Linked DNA regions of Homo sapiens: all the other regions are linked to region 1. The links are contacts of gene promoters, found by promoter capture Hi-C in blood cells and fetal thymus (Javierre and others, 2016). All regions are on one chromosome and are shown on one strand. Each heading gives the region's core, a stretch centred on a gene start or on the middle of the fragment in contact. The rest is flanking DNA. Distances are from core to core; before and after follow the strand shown.

Region 1 (5,046 bases), core at 779-3,278:
GTGAGGCCTGTAACCCACCAGCTGTCCAGTCTGGCCCTGGTGGCTTCCAAGCTGTGCGAGGAGACCCCCATCACATCAGTGCCCAGAGGGAGTTTGCGGGGGCGGGGGCCCAGCCCTGCAGCTGCCTCCCCTGAGGGCAGCCCCCTGCGCCGCACCCCGCTGCCCAAGCATTTTGAGATTACCCAGGAGACAGCCCGGCTACTCTCGAAATTGGACAGCGAGGCTGTGCCCAGGGCCACCTGCTGCCCGGACGTCCAGCCTGAGGAAGCCGAGGACCATCTCTGACCACCCTGGCACCTTAAATAAGGAAGAGGCCCAGATTGTGAAGACGGACCCATATATCCCTACCTCCCACCACCTAGTGGCCAAACACCCCGCCAGGAGTTCAATGCTGGGAGAGGTCCAGAGGGTTCCTATAAGGAAAAACTATTTAATACATGACCTAGGGGAGGCCTAAAACCCTTTTGGGGATAATGTCCCAGAGTCCCCCCACTAGACACAGGTCACTGCCAAGCATCAGGGCCACTCGGGCTCAGAGGTCACTCAGGGTCAATACTCAGGGTCAGTGCAGGTTATGAGATCCTTGGGGTCCACCCTAGTCTCTGACACCTGGGACAGGGGTGCTTTTGCTACTTTGGTTGTGGTCACTCCCCCACACCTGCCTGCCTCCTTCACGGACTCGAAGTGACCTTCCTGGAGGAGGTGGGCAGCTCAGACTCCACATGCTGGTGGTGCCTGAGGTCTGATGGCCTCTAATAAACTGTGTCCTATATGCCCTTGGGTGCATCTCTGCTAGGGGAGAGGCCAGCATGGGTAGCACTCCTTGCCCCCATTTTACAGATTAGGGGAATCAAGGCCTCTTTTTTTTTTTTTTTTTTTTTTTTTTTTGAGACGGAGTTTTGCTCTGTCTCCAGGTTGGAGTGCAGTGGCACGATCTCCGCTCACTGCAACCTCCACCTCCCGGGTTCAAGCGATTCTCCTGCCTCAGCCTCCCGAGTAGCTGGGACTACAGGCGCCTGCCACCATGCCCGGCTAATTTTTTTGTATTTTTAGTAGAGACGGGGTTTCAGCATGTTGGCCAGGATGGTCTCGATCTCCTGATCTCGTGATCGTCCCGCATCGGCCTCCCAAAATGCAGGGATTACAGGCGTGAGCCACTGCGCCCGGCCTCAAGGCCTCCTTCTTGCATCATCAAACACCCTGCAGCACCTACGTAAAGGCAGTTGGAGCTGGGTCGCAGCACCCGGCTGAGTCACGCCAGCCCGGCCCTCCCGGAGCTCTGCGTCCCCGATCCGGTCCTGCATAATCAAATACAGTATAACAAAGTACCGATAACCGGGACAATGGGGCTGTGTGCTCCGGACCGTGGGAGCCCGGGGCCGCCGCAGGGAGGCCGAGGGAGGAAGCCACAGGGCAGGGCAGGGCAGGGCCGGGCTTTGCAGGGGGCAGCGCTGTCCCAGGGTGAGGGGTACGGGGGCGGGATTGCAAAACCCTAGCGTGCGCCCGATGATCAGCTGGGGCCGCAGAGGTGGGCCTCGCACAGGAGGCCGCGGCTCGCTGATACTGCGAGCTGGCAAAGCCGAAGCTGGGCGGGGGTCCGGGCGGTGGGAGCCAAGTCGGATCAGGGAGTGGCTTGTAACTCGGCGGCCGATTGGACACGAAGAAGAGAGCGGGGTGGGGCTGGGAGGGTTGGGGGTCCGGAGCGGGGGCGCGGACCCAAGACCACCTGGAGCTCCGCCCGGGCAGCGCGGGGTCACGGCGGGAATTTTCGGGTCGCCGAGTGACTCAGCCCCGCAGGCTCGAAACTGCGGGCGCATGAGGTGTGCAGGTACCGGGGTGGGGGTCCCGCGCCGGAAATAGGGGCGACTGAGGGGCCGCGAGGCGGGGAGGAAACAGGGGGGCTGCGGTTCCGGGCGACACCGCCCCCGACGCGGCCGTGGAGGCGGGGCTCCCCCAGGTGGCGGGGCGGGGCAGGGCTCCCCCAGGTGGTGGGGGCGGGGCGCCGGGGAGACCCCGCCTCCCGCGCCCTCTCAGCAACCCGCACAGGGCGCACCCGGACGCTCTACCGCTCCCGCCGCAGTCGCCGGGCCATGGGCCTCGAGCCCGCCCCGAACCCCCGCGAGCCCGCCTTGTCTGCGGCGTGACTGGAGGCCCAGGTGAGGCCTGCACGGACGGGAGGCGGGCGGGTGCGGGCCTGGGCCCGGGGGAAGGGCGCGGCACGTGCCTGCGGGGCCAGGACGCCGCCCTCTGATCCCTTAACCCCCTACCCCTTCCCCAGTCTGGAGACGCCTGGAGGCCCGGCCATCCATCCCTTCCCCAACCGCTGTCTTTGTCCCGGAGACCGCCAGTGTCCTCCGTCCCACCCGGAACAGCCTATTGCCCCGCCCGCTTGGGAAGCACTCGCGCCCAAATCCCGCCGACTAACTTCTGGGGCCGCCTCTCTGTCCACTCCGATCACCTCCACGCCTCGGCACCGCCCCCTCGCAGGGTTCTAGCAAGTGACCTCACCCTTGTGTGCACACGCTCCCGGGTCTCTGCTCCCTACACTGACTCCGGCACCAAAGTGATCCTCCCTCATCTCTTCCCGCAGCTCACACCCCTTTGTCTTTCCCTAACCCTCCTCTCCCCACAACCCAAACCGGGTCACACATTGGCGGCAGGTGGGCTGGGATTCGACCATAGATGGGTTTTGTTTCACTTCTGGTTCAAAAACCTATTGACTTGGGTGATGTCTTGCACACAGGTCTTATTAGTAGGTAAGAAACAGCTGCTCCTCCACCTCCACCCCAGCCCCATGGAGCTTGCTTTTTCCAGGCCACCGTAGTCCTCACCACTGCCACTTTGCTTCGAGGTATCTGAATTTGAGACCCTTGTCCTTCCTGCGCTGACCCTCCTCTGCAGCTGCCGCCCCTCCCTGTGTCCTTCCAAGAAGTGCCACATGCACTGATCTCTTGTGTCCCCAGATGGTCATCATGGGCCAGTGCTACTACAACGAGACCATCGGCTTCTTCTATAACAACAGTGGCAAAGAGCTCAGCTCCCACTGGCGGCCCAAGGATGTGGTCGTGGTGGCACTGGGGCTGACCGTCAGCGTGCTGGTGCTGCTGACCAATCTGCTGGTCATAGCAGCCATCGCCTCCAACCGCCGCTTCCACCAGCCCATCTACTACCTGCTCGGCAATCTGGCCGCGGCTGACCTCTTCGCGGGCGTGGCCTACCTCTTCCTCATGTTCCACACTGGTCCCCGCACAGCCCGACTTTCACTTGAGGGCTGGTTCCTGCGGCAGGGCTTGCTGGACACAAGCCTCACTGCGTCGGTGGCCACACTGCTGGCCATCGCCGTGGAGCGGCACCGCAGTGTGATGGCCGTGCAGCTGCACAGCCGCCTGCCCCGTGGCCGCGTGGTCATGCTCATTGTGGGCGTGTGGGTGGCTGCCCTGGGCCTGGGGCTGCTGCCTGCCCACTCCTGGCACTGCCTCTGTGCCCTGGACCGCTGCTCACGCATGGCACCCCTGCTCAGCCGCTCCTATTTGGCCGTCTGGGCTCTGTCGAGCCTGCTTGTCTTCCTGCTCATGGTGGCTGTGTACACCCGCATTTTCTTCTACGTGCGGCGGCGAGTGCAGCGCATGGCAGAGCATGTCAGCTGCCACCCCCGCTACCGAGAGACCACGCTCAGCCTGGTCAAGACTGTTGTCATCATCCTGGGTAAGTGGGGCCCCCAGGGGGCAACAGGGACCCTGCTTCCCCCTATCTCCCACAAGACACTGCGAAGCAATGAACAAAACAAGCTACCTGATAGAGGGTGATGGGGGATGATTTAGGTGGGGAATGTCCTCCAAGGAGGTGATAATGTATGTGAGCAGAGGCCTGAATGCTGAGGATAGGAACAGAGAGCCTTCCAGGCAGAGGAAACGGAAAGTAAAAACCTCAAGGCAGTACGAGGCCAGAGCCTCTAAAGAGGAAAGTGGGCTTGTGAGGAGGAGAGATCAGCAAGGCCTTAAGGGGCACGGACAGGAGTCTTATTTTGAGTTTCATGGGAACCCCTTAAGAGTTTTTAGCAGTGCTAGCCGGGCACAGTGGCTCACGCCTGTAATCCCAGCACTTTGGGAGGCCGAGGCGGGCAGATCAGCTGAGGTTGGGAGTTCACGACCAGCCTGACCAACATGGAGAAACCCCATCTCTACTAAAAATGCAAAATTAGCCAGGTATGGTGGTGTGTGCCTGTAATCCCAGCTACTCGGGAGCCTGAGGCAGGAGAATTGCTTGAACCCAGGAGGCGGAGGTTGTGGTGAGCCGAGATCACACCATTGCACTCCAGCCTGGGCAACAAGAGCGAAACTCCAGAACTCTGTCTCAGAAAAAAAAAAAAAAAAGGAGTTTTTAGCAGTGCTAAGCCTGTTTTAACAAAAAGCCTTTAAATTGTTTTTTAATCTATATGTATTTTTAATTTTTTTTTTTTTTTTTTGAGACAGAGTCTCGCTCTGTCACCCAGGCTGGAGTGCAGTGGCGCAATCTCGGCTCACTGCAACTTCTGCCTCCCAGGTTCAAGTGGTTCTCCTGCCTCAGCCTCCTGAGTAGCTGGGACTACAGGTGCGTGCCACTATGCCTGGCTAATTTTTCTATTTTTAGTAGAGACCAGGTTTCACTATGTTGGCCAGGATGGTCTCGATGTCTTGACCTCGTGATCCACCCGCCTTGGCCTCCCAAAGTGCTGGGATTACAAGCATGAGCCACCACGCCCGGCCCATATTTTTAAATTTCAAAATTTATTTTTGTTTTTAAGATACAGGATCTTACTCTTGCCTAGGCTGGATTACAATGGCTCCATCATAGCTCACTGCAGCCTCAACCTTCCGGGCTCAGGTGATCCTCCCGCCTCAGTTTCCTGAGTAGCTGGGACTACAGGCATGTGCCACCATACCTGGCTAATTTTTTATTTTTTGTAGAAACGAGGTCTCACTATATTGCCTAGGCTGGTCTTAAACTCCTGGCCTCAAGTGATTGTCCTGCCTCAGCCTGTCAAATGCTGCAGTGAGGTGTGATCGT
Region 2 (5,046 bases), core at 1,824-4,323, 240 kb before region 1:
GTAGAGGACTATAGATGCCAAAAAGGCAGAGACACAATTCTGCCTGCATATTTAGGGGACAGCATGCACTTTGCTGCACAACTCTGAGCTGACTGGAAGCCAGAGAGGGAAAGTCCCCTCTAGAGTAAATTTTGGATGGCACTTTATGTGTTTGTATCATGTCTGGTAATTCTAGACAGTGTTTGGAAACAATAATTAAAAGAAAAATTTCCTCCAGCCCCAGAAAATCTTCACAATAAGACAAAAGAAAGAAAATGGTTTTATTACACAATTGAACTTGAATGTGATATGCATCATCGTCAATCTGCTTAAGAGGCTCCAAAGACAGAAAGATGGTCACCATAATTAGTCTACAATTAGAAGAATTTCCAGCACCATGTCATACATAGTTCATCCTAAATTCACCTGGAGATTGAAGAGGCCATCTGTGTATGTTAATTGCTTATATTCAATGACAAACTTTTCACATCTTCATAACAGGATGTAGTTTAGCAGCTTGAAGCCAGGTGTCTGCTGAAGGCAGGATTTCACTCTGCTACAAAAATGGCTGAGTAGCATTCTATCTTTTTGGCTATTTACATTTTAAAGCAGTGGCTCTGTACTCCCTGGCACTGGGCTACAGCACTCCTGCTTGCTTTCTCCTGAATGCTAGTGTCCTTCCTCTCTTGACCTCTACCATCTGCCACTGAGGCACAGTTCAGAGCACAGCTCACATTTTATATGAACCCCATTTGCCACAGCAGCACTCCAGTGTCACATCAGAGTGAGGCCTGAGCTGCAGGAGGAGAGCCTGCAGGCCTCATGGGTAGAATTGCACCTTCACAATCATGGGAATGTGAGCAGTGTTTCAGCCTCAGTTTCTACTTGTAATGGTGACAAGGAAAAAATACTGCTGAATTTCCAGCATGAGTCCAGATAGAGATAGCTCCAAAAGTTCTCACTGTGAGAGTCCACCTCATTTGGACACCATAGGATAGTAATAGGGCTTCTGAAACAGACATCCAAAGCATTGGAGAGAAAAACAGATCTCCATCTGAGCCAGATTATTTTGAGAGAAAAATGTAAAAAAGATCTTTTAAAAAAGCTCAGGTTAGATATCAGATTGATCAAATGAGCCAGAAAATGTTCCCCTAAAAGCAATTTCTCTCTAACCACCCAAAGTACACAGCTGCTCTCATCATGAGAAACATGAGCATTACGAAGAAAGAGGGCAGATTTTCAGAAGAATTTTATAAAGTTTCTTTTCCATCTCTGCTGCTCTCTCATCTCCTAGCCACTGAATGGGGGTTCTATATTGAAATACATCTGACAACTTCCAACAACACTTTAAGATGAAGAAATAGAATTTGACTGTGTTCATATAGTGGAATATGTTACAACTTGCAACACAGCTAACTGAATAGCTATTATGGTGTTTGGGTGGCCACATCACCTGTCTTTATTTTTCCTGTAATAGCAGCATTCCAACTTAGTGAAATAAAAGATAATAAAATTGTGTTTACTCATAATTATTCCTATTGAGTAAAGTAATAAACATGTCAGACTAATATCTACTCTAACAATTTGGTAGTAAATTTTCTTTGGACATTAGATATAAATATCTAACTATGAATAATTTTAATGAACAGGTCATAATATATGTAGCTTTTTTTTTTTTTTTTGAGACACAATCTCATTCTGTCACCCAGGCTGGAGTGAAATGGTGCAATCTCAGCTCACTGCAACTTCTGCCTCCCAGGAACAAGCGATTCTCCTGCCTCAGCCTGCCAAGTAGCTGGGATTACAGGCGCGTGCCACCACACCCAGCTAATTTTTTATTTTTAGTAGAGATGGGGTTACACCATGTCAGGCTGGTGTCGAACTCCTGACCTCAGGTAATTAACCTGCCTCAGCCTCTCAAAGTGTTGGAATTACAGGTGTGAGCCACTGCACTCGGCAATGTATGTAGTATTTTTAAAAACTGCAACTATACTTCAGTTAAAACACTTTATATTTCAAAAGTATAAATAACAATATTAAAATAACCATTTAAGTGAATCATTCAAAGTAAGTATTGTGGCTTTATGTTCATACTATTGTAGAAAATATTGTTTTTGGCTCACACCGGTAATACCAGCACTTTTGGAGGCTGAAGCAGGTGCATCACCTGAGGTCAGGAGTTCGAGACCAGTCTGACCAACATGGTGAAATCCTGTCTCTACTAAAAATACAAAAAAGTAGCCGGACATGGTGGTGCATGCCTGTATTCCCAGCCACTCGGGAGGCTGAGGCAGGAGAATTACTTGAAACCAGAAGGCAGTGATTGCAGTGAGCCAAGATTACACCACTGCACTCCAGCCTGGGCAACAGAGTAAGACTGTTTTTTAAAAAAAAAAAAAAAAAAAAAAAAAAAGGCCAGGCATGGTGGCTCATGCCTGTAATCCCATCACTTCGGGAGGCTGAGGCAGGCAGATCACCTGAGGTCAGGAGTTCAAGACCAGCCTGATCAACATGGAAAAACCGCATCTCTATTAAAAATACAAAATGAGCTGGGCCTGGTGGTGCATGCCTGTAATCCCAGCTACTGGGAGCTGAGACAGGAAAATTGCTTGAACCTGGGAGGCAGAGTTTGCCTGAGCCGAGATCAAACCATTGCACACCATCCTGGACAACAAGAGCAAAACACCTCGAAAAAAAAAATGTTTAATTTATATTAATGCAGTTTGCCTACAAACCCTACACATAACTATCCTAATTGTTCTGAAGTAATAAATAGAAAGCAAGATACAACTACAGACTCCACTGTTTATGCACTGTTCTTGCTTTTGCAGTATAAGTACTTCAGCCTGCAAATATTGGATAATTACCTTGGATAATCAGGTTTCTGTAAAAGAAACTTAATACCTTTTAGTCTTTAGCATTCTGCATTGCTAAATTTAATCCTATCTTTCTGCTAAGCTTCTGTGTGCTCTTAAAATGAGCTTTTATCTAAACAAATCTGTGTCTAATTTAAAGGACTAAAAATGAAAAAAATAAACTTTTCAGAAGCAAAAATAAAGCAATAATTCTGAAGTACTACATAAAGATAATCTGGACCCGAGAAAATGACAAAGGGTTTATTTAGCTGTTCATATGATTTACATGTATTTCAAAAAAAGCAGAGAAAAGCATCTACATATAACCTAAATTCCTTAAGAAAAGAGAGAATATCAAAATATTTTTTAAGCTTTTTATTTATTTATTATACTTTAAAGTTCTGGGGTACATGTGCATAACGTGCAGGTTTGTTACATAGGTATACACGTGCCATGAAGGTTTGCTGCACCCATCAAACCATTATTTACACTAGGTATTTCTCCTAATGCTGTCCCTCCCCTAGCCCCCCAATCCCCTTTTTTGGAACTTTTTAAAGAGTTTTTGAACTCTTGGACATCAGAATTTTACACACTGTATGCACTTGAAAAAATGCTTATGGGGGAAAAAGCAGAAGAGAGAAAGATATTATAAAAAAAAGTTCATGAGTGCACAAGACCAATGCAACAGAATAGAGAGCCCAGAAATAATGCCACCCTCCTACCATCATCAGATTTTTGGCAAAGCTGATAAGAGAAATGTGGAAAGAATTCTCCATTTAATAAATGGTGCTGGAATAACTAGCTAGCACTATGTAGAAGACTGAAAGTGGACCCCTTCATTACACAATATACAAAATCAACTCAAGATTAATTAAAGACTTAAATGAAAAACTTAAAATTGTAAGAAACCTTGCAAGATAACCTAGGAAGTACCATTCTAGACACAGAAACTGGCAAACACTTCATGATGAAGCTACCAAAAGCAATTGCAACAAAAGCAAAAATTGACAATGGGACCTATTTGAACTAAAGAGCTTCTTCACAGCAAAGGAAACTATTAACAGAGTAAACAGACAACCTACAGAATAAAAAAAATTTGCAAACTTTGCCTCTGACAAAAGTCTAATATCCAGAATTTATTAAGAACTTAAACAAGTTTACAAGAAAAAAAAAATCTCATTAAAAAATAGGCCAAAAAAACATGAATAGATGCTTTTCAAAAGAACATATACATGTGGCTAGCAAGCATATGAAAAAAAAAAAGCTCATCACTAATCATTAGAGAAATTAAGAGAAACCACAATGAGATACCACATCACACCAGTCAGAATGGCTATTTTTAAAAAGTCAAAAAATAACAGATGCTGGCAAGGTTGCAGAGAAAAGGGAATGCTTATACTCTACCTCATAATTGGGTATATACCCAAAGAAATATAAATTATTGTATTATAAAGATACATTCATATGTATGTTCATTGCAGCACTATTCACAATAGCAAAGACATGGACAGGCCCTATCAGTGGTAGACTGGATAAAGAAAACACGGTATGGTCAGATGCGGTGGCTCATGCCTGTAATCCCAGCACTCTGGGAGGCTGAGGCAGGTGGATTGCCTGAGCTTAGAAGTTTAAGACCAACCTGGGCAACATTGCAAAATCCTGTCTCCACAGAAAATACAAAGAGAAAAATTGGCCAGGCGTGGTAACACCAGCGTGTAGATCAAGCTACGTGAAAGGATGAGGTAGGAGAGAATTGCTTGAGCCAGGGAGGTTGAGGCTAAATAAGGCTGCATCACTCCACAGCACTCTAGCCTGGGCAATAAGTGACACTCTGTCTCCAAAAATAAAATAAAATAAAAGATTTAGTAAAAACAAAATATGGTACATAAATATCATGGAATACTCTCTGGCCATTTAAAAATAAATGATCATGTCCTTTGCAATAACATCAATAAAGCTGTAGACCATTATTTCAGAAAACTAATGCAGAAACAGAAAACCAGACATTCGCCATCACACCCAGCTAATTTTTGTACTTTTAGTAGAGATGGGGTTTCCCCATTTTGGCCAGGCTGGTCTTCAACTCCTGACCTCAAGTGATCCATCCACCTCGACCTCCTGAAGTGTTGTTATTACAGGCGTGAGCCACCGCGCCCGGCCCCATAAATTTTTAATAGGAGAAAAGGGAAACTGTGAACCCTGACAGATATAA
Region 3 (5,046 bases), core at 1,741-4,240, 140 kb before region 1:
GGCTGCTCTCAGCAGTCCCACGGCAGCTGTCTGAAAAGATTGGTACAGATGTAGCCACAGCTGGTGTTCACAGGGCTGGGTGCTTCTTGTGGTTTGGTGTCTTTTGTTTAGATTTTGTGGCTCTGACCCTCTTCTGCTTATCCATTCCTGGTAGTATCTGCGAGGTTGCCTCGTTTGTTCCACTTGTTTCCTGGAAGCTTGTTGTGTAATTTTATTTCCCAGGATCTTTGGGATTCTATTCTCACTAGACCAGTCACTGTCCACTGGCCCTGTACTTATCTTGCGGGAGCCCCCATGTTCATCCTTTCCAGTGGAGCTAGGAAGAATTCTAGTTACTTCTAAATCTTCTAATTCTGATGCTGTTGGGCCATTTATTAAGCTGGGAATTTTGTCTTTGGGCTCATGGACATTATTCCAAAGGTTGTCTTGTCTTTGGGCTCATGAACATTATTCCAAAGGTTGCAGTGAGCCGAGATCACACCATTGCACTCCAGCCTGGGGTACAAGAGCGAGACTTCATCTCAAAAAAAATAAATAAATAAATAAATAAAAAATAAAATTATGATTTCAGTTTCTTCCTAGTGTAGGGCAATTCAAAAATATCAGTTTTTTAATTGGGTAATTATAATAATTTATGTTTTGAGTGATTAAATCATTTCATCTAAGCTGTTAAATTTTATGTGTATAGAGTTATTCATATTGAAGTCCCAACCCTCATTGGGACTGGGTATGGAGAGGGAGATTTTTAAGAGGTAATTGAGGTTAAATGAGGTCATCAGAGTGAGGCCATAATCCAGTATGACTATCATCATGATAAGAAGAGATAGAGGCCAGGCACTGTGGCTCACGCCTGTAATTGCAGCACTTTGGGAGGCCAAGGCAGGCGGATCACTTGAGGCCAGGAGTTTGAGACCAGCCTGGCCAACATGGCAAAACCCTGGCTCTACTAAAAATAAAACATTAGCTGGGCATGGTGGCGCACACCTGTAATCCCACACCTGTATTCAGGTCACTAAGGCAAGAGAATCACTTGAACCCAGGAGGCGGAGGTTGCAGTGAGCCGAGATTGTGCCACTGCACTCCAGCCTGGGAGATAGAGCGAGACTCTGTCTCAATAAATAAATAAATGAATAAATAAATAAAATAAAGGAGAAGGGACAGAGAAACACTAGAACGGGCCAATTAGAAGAAAAAGCCCTGCCGGGTGCGGTGGCTCACGGCTGTAATCCCAGCACTTTGGGAGGCTGAGGCGGGTGGATCACGAGGTCAGGAGTTTAAGACCAGCCTGGCCAAGATGGTGAAACCCCGTCTCTACTAAAAATACAAAAAAATTAGCCGGGCGCGGTGGCAGGCGCCTGTAATCCCAATTACTCAGGAGGCTGAGGCAGGAGAATCGCTTGAACTTGGGGGGCGGAGGTCGCAGTGAGCCGAGATCGTGCCACTGCACTCCAGCCTCGGTGACAGAGTGAGACTCCATCTCAAAAAAAAAAGAAAAGAAAAGAAAAAAAGAAAAGGGCCATGTGAGGATACAGAGGAAGGTGGCGCCATACGCAGAGGGCTCAGGAGAAACCAGCTGTCCTGGGACCTTGATCTTAGACTTCCAGCCTCCAGAACTGTGAGATGATTTATTTTAACTCACCCAGACTCTGGTATTTTCTTATGGCAGCCCTAGACGACTAATACACTTTATTATTCTTTTTATGTCTGCAGGGTATGTAATGATATCCTTTGTTTCTTTTTTTTTTTTTTTTTTTTTGAGATGGAGTCTCGCTTTGTAGCCAGACTGGAGTGCAGTGGCCCGACCTTGGCTCACTGTAATCTCCACCTCCTGGGTTCAAGCAATTCTCCTGCGTCAGCCTCCCGAGTAGCTGGGACTACAGGCACCCACCACCACGCCCAGCTAATTTTTATTTTTTGTATTTTTAGTAGAGACAGGGTTTCACCATATTGGCCAGGCTGGTCTCGAACTCCTGACCTTGTGATCCACCTGACTCAGCCTCCCAAAGTACTAGGATTACAGGCGTGAGCCACCGCGCCTGGCCGATATCCCTTGTTTCATTCCTGACAGGGTAATTTGTGTCTTGTCCTTTCCCCCACTTAGTCTTGCTTGAGGTTTGTCTATTTAATTGATCTTTTCAAAAAAAATCAGCTGTCTGTTTTATTGGTTTTTCTCTATTACTTTCTGAGTCTCAACTTTATTTCTCTTCCTATCTTTATTATTTCTTTCTTAATACTTCTTTTGTTTGGGTTTAGTTTATTAAGTTTGACCTTTTCCCAGGTTATCGATGTGGAAAATTAGATTATCTGGAGACTTAGTTTTTTTCTTTTTTTTCTTCTTTTTTTTTGAGACAGTCTTGCTCTGTCGCCCAGGCTGGGGTGCAGTGGCGCCATCTCGGCTTACTGCAAGCTCCGCCTCCTGGGTTCATGCCATTCTCCTGCCTCAGCCTGGGACTACAGGCACCTGCTGCCACGCCCGGCTAATTTTTTTTTTTTTTTTTTTTTTTTTTTTGTATTTTTAGTAGAGACCGGGTTTCACCGTGTTAGCCAGGATAGTCTGGATCTCCTGGCCTCGGCCTCCCAAAGTGCTGGGATTACAGGCTTGAACCACCGCGCCCGACCAGCCTTTTCTAATATATGAGTTTAGTGCCATCAGTTTCTTCAGTACACTGCTTTAGTTGTGTCTTACAAATTTTGATCCATTGTCTTTTCATCATCTTTGTGGTCAATGTATTTTTTGTTTTCCCAGGGACTTCCCCTTCAAGCTTGCAAGAGTTGGAGATGTTTGCATTGTCTTCACATTATTGATTTCTAGTCTGACTCCATTATGATCCGAGAACACACTCCGTGTAATCTGATTTTTAAAATTTGTTGAAGTTTGTTTCATGGCCTAGGAGATGGTCTATCTTACTTTATGTTCCATGAGCCCTTGAAGAGAATGCATATGCTGCTGCTGTTGATTAAATTACTCTACAAATGTCAACCAGATCCTGTTGATGAATGATGGTGTTGAACTGTTGTCTTTTTTTTAGATTTGCTGCTGAAATTTTCTCTGTTCTATTGTTTAGAGAAAAATGTCAATATCTCCAACGATAATTGTGTATTTGTCTTATTGTCTGTTTCTCCTCTGTTTGTTCCAGTTTTTGTTTCACATTTTTCATGTCTGTTGATTTATGCCTACACATTTAGGACTGCTGGGTCTTCTGGGTGGATTAAGCTTTTTATCATTATGTAATTTCTCTCCATGTCTCAATTTTTTTCTCTGAAATCTACTTTATCCGATATTATTGTAACTACTCATGCTTTCCTTGATTACTTGTATCTTTTTCCAGCTTCTTATACTTTATTTATTTATTTTAAATTTATTTTTGATATGGAGTCTCACTCTGTTGCCCAGGCTGGAGTACAGTGGCGTGATCTCGGCTCACTGCAACTTCTGCCTCCCCAGTTCAAGCGATTCTCCTGCCTCAGCCTCCCAAGTAGCTGGGATTATAGGCACCAGCCACCACACCTGGCTAATTTTTGTATTTTTAGTAGAGCCAGGGTTTCACTATGTTGGCCAGGCTGGTCTTGAACTCCTGACCTCAAGTGATTCGCCCACCCCAGCCTCCCAAAGTGCTGGGATTACAGGCGTGAGTGAGCCACCACGCCTTGCCCAGCTTCTTATACTTTAAATTTACCTTTTTTTTTCTGATTTTATTCTGCTTTTTTTTTTTTTTTTTTTTTTTTTTTTTAGTATTTATTGATCATTCTTGAGTGTTTCTCGGAGAGGGGGATTTGGCAGGGTCATAGGACAATAGTGGAGGGAAGGTCAGCAGATAAACAAGTGAACAAAGGTCTCTGGTTTTCCTAGGCAGAGGGCCCTGCCGCCTTCCACAGTGTTTGTGTCCCTGGGTAGTTGAGATTAGGGAGTGGTGATGATTCTTAGAGCATGCTGCCTTCAAGCATCTGTTTAACAAAGCACAACTTGCACCGCCCTTAATCCATTTAACCCTTAGTGGACACAGCACCTGTTTCAGAGAGCACGGGGTTGGGGGTAAGGTTATAGATTAACAGCATCCCAAGGCAGAAGAATTTTTCCTAGTACAGAACAAAATGGAGTCTCCTATGTCTACTTCTTTCTACACAAACACAATAACAATCTGATCTCTCTTTCTTTTCCCCACATTTCCCCCTTTTCTATTCGACAAAACCGCCATTGTCATCATGGCCCGTTCTCAATGAGCTGTTGGGTACACCTCCCGGACGGGGCGGCTGGCCGGACGGGAGCTGCCCCCCACTTCCCAGATGGGGCGGCTGCCGGGCGGAGGGGCTCCTCACTTCTCAGACGGGGCGGCCGGGCAGGGACGCTCCTCACCTCCCAGATGGGGTGGCGGCGGGGCAGAGACACTCCTCAGTTCCCAGACGGGGTCGCGGCCGGGCAGAGGCACTCTTCACATCTCAGATGGGGCGGCAGGGCAGAGGTGCTCCCCACATCCCAGATGATGGGCGGCCAGACAGAGACGCTCCTCACTTCCTAGACGGGATGATGGCCGGGAAGAGGCACTCCTCACTTCCCAGACTGGGCGGCCGGGCAGAGGGGCTCCTCACATCCCAGACGATGGGCGGCCAGGCAGAGACGCTCCTCACTTCCTAGACGGGGTGGCGGCCGGGCAGAGGCTGCAATCTCGGCACTTTGGGAGGCCAAGGCAGGCAGTTGGGAGGTGGAGGTTGTAGCGATCCGAGATCACGCCACTGCACTCCAGCCTGGGCAACATTGAGCACTGAGTGAGCGAGACCCCGTCTGCAATCCCGGCACCTCGGGAGGCCGAGGGTGGCAGACCACTCGCAGTCAGGAGCTGGAGACCAGCCCGGCCAACACGGCGAAACCCCGTCTCCACCAAAAAATACGAAAACCATCAGGTGTGGCGGCGCGCGCCTGCAATCGCAGGCACTCGGCAGGCTGAGGCAGGAGAATCAGGCAGGGAGGCTGCAGTGAGCCGAGATGGCGGCAGTACCGTCCAGCCTCGGCTCCGCATCAGAGGGAGACTGTGCAAAGGGGAGACGAGG

The links. Contacts are between HindIII fragments. The CHiCAGO score rates a contact against its expected background, and 5 or more counts as called.
Region 2: a contact is called between a fragment that was not itself captured here and the fragment with the promoter of LPAR2 in region 1, in 4 of 17 cell types (total B cells, non-activated CD4 T cells, total CD4 T cells and 1 more). The highest score is 7.0, in total B cells.
Region 3: a contact is called between a fragment that was not itself captured here and the fragment with the promoter of LPAR2 in region 1, in 7 of 17 cell types (monocytes, total CD8 T cells, total CD4 T cells and 4 more). The highest score is 7.4, in monocytes.

What each region holds. Positions count from the first base shown.
Region 1 is chr19:19,625,202-19,630,247 of GRCh38, reverse strand. LPAR2 (lysophosphatidic acid receptor 2) reads left to right here and starts at 2,028. Exons shown (of 3, transcript NM_001395660.1): 1 at 2,028-2,156; 2 at 2,964-3,705. The coding sequence starts at 2,973. It overlaps GMIP (GEM interacting protein), which reads left to right. Exons shown (of 21, transcript NM_016573.4): 21 at 1-772. The coding sequence ends at 285. RefSeq lists silencers at 1,278-1,407, 1,778-2,277 and an enhancer at 718-1,640. The HindIII fragment of the contact is 41,803 bases long and covers 1-5,046 here.
Region 2 is chr19:19,867,007-19,872,052 of GRCh38, reverse strand. The region is part of intron 1 of ZNF253 (zinc finger protein 253); the gene reads right to left. LOC124904664 (a long non-coding RNA gene) reads left to right here and starts at 1,576. Exons shown (of 4, transcript XR_007067169.1): 1 at 1,576-5,046. It also overlaps the pseudogene BNIP3P10. The HindIII fragment of the contact is 268 bases long and covers 2,940-3,207 here.
Region 3 is chr19:19,769,506-19,774,551 of GRCh38, reverse strand. The region is part of intron 1 of LINC00663 (long intergenic non-protein coding RNA 663); the gene reads left to right. Among named protein-coding and RNA genes, the nearest start is that of LINC00663, 4.4 kb to the left of the region's middle. The HindIII fragment of the contact is 452 bases long and covers 2,765-3,216 here.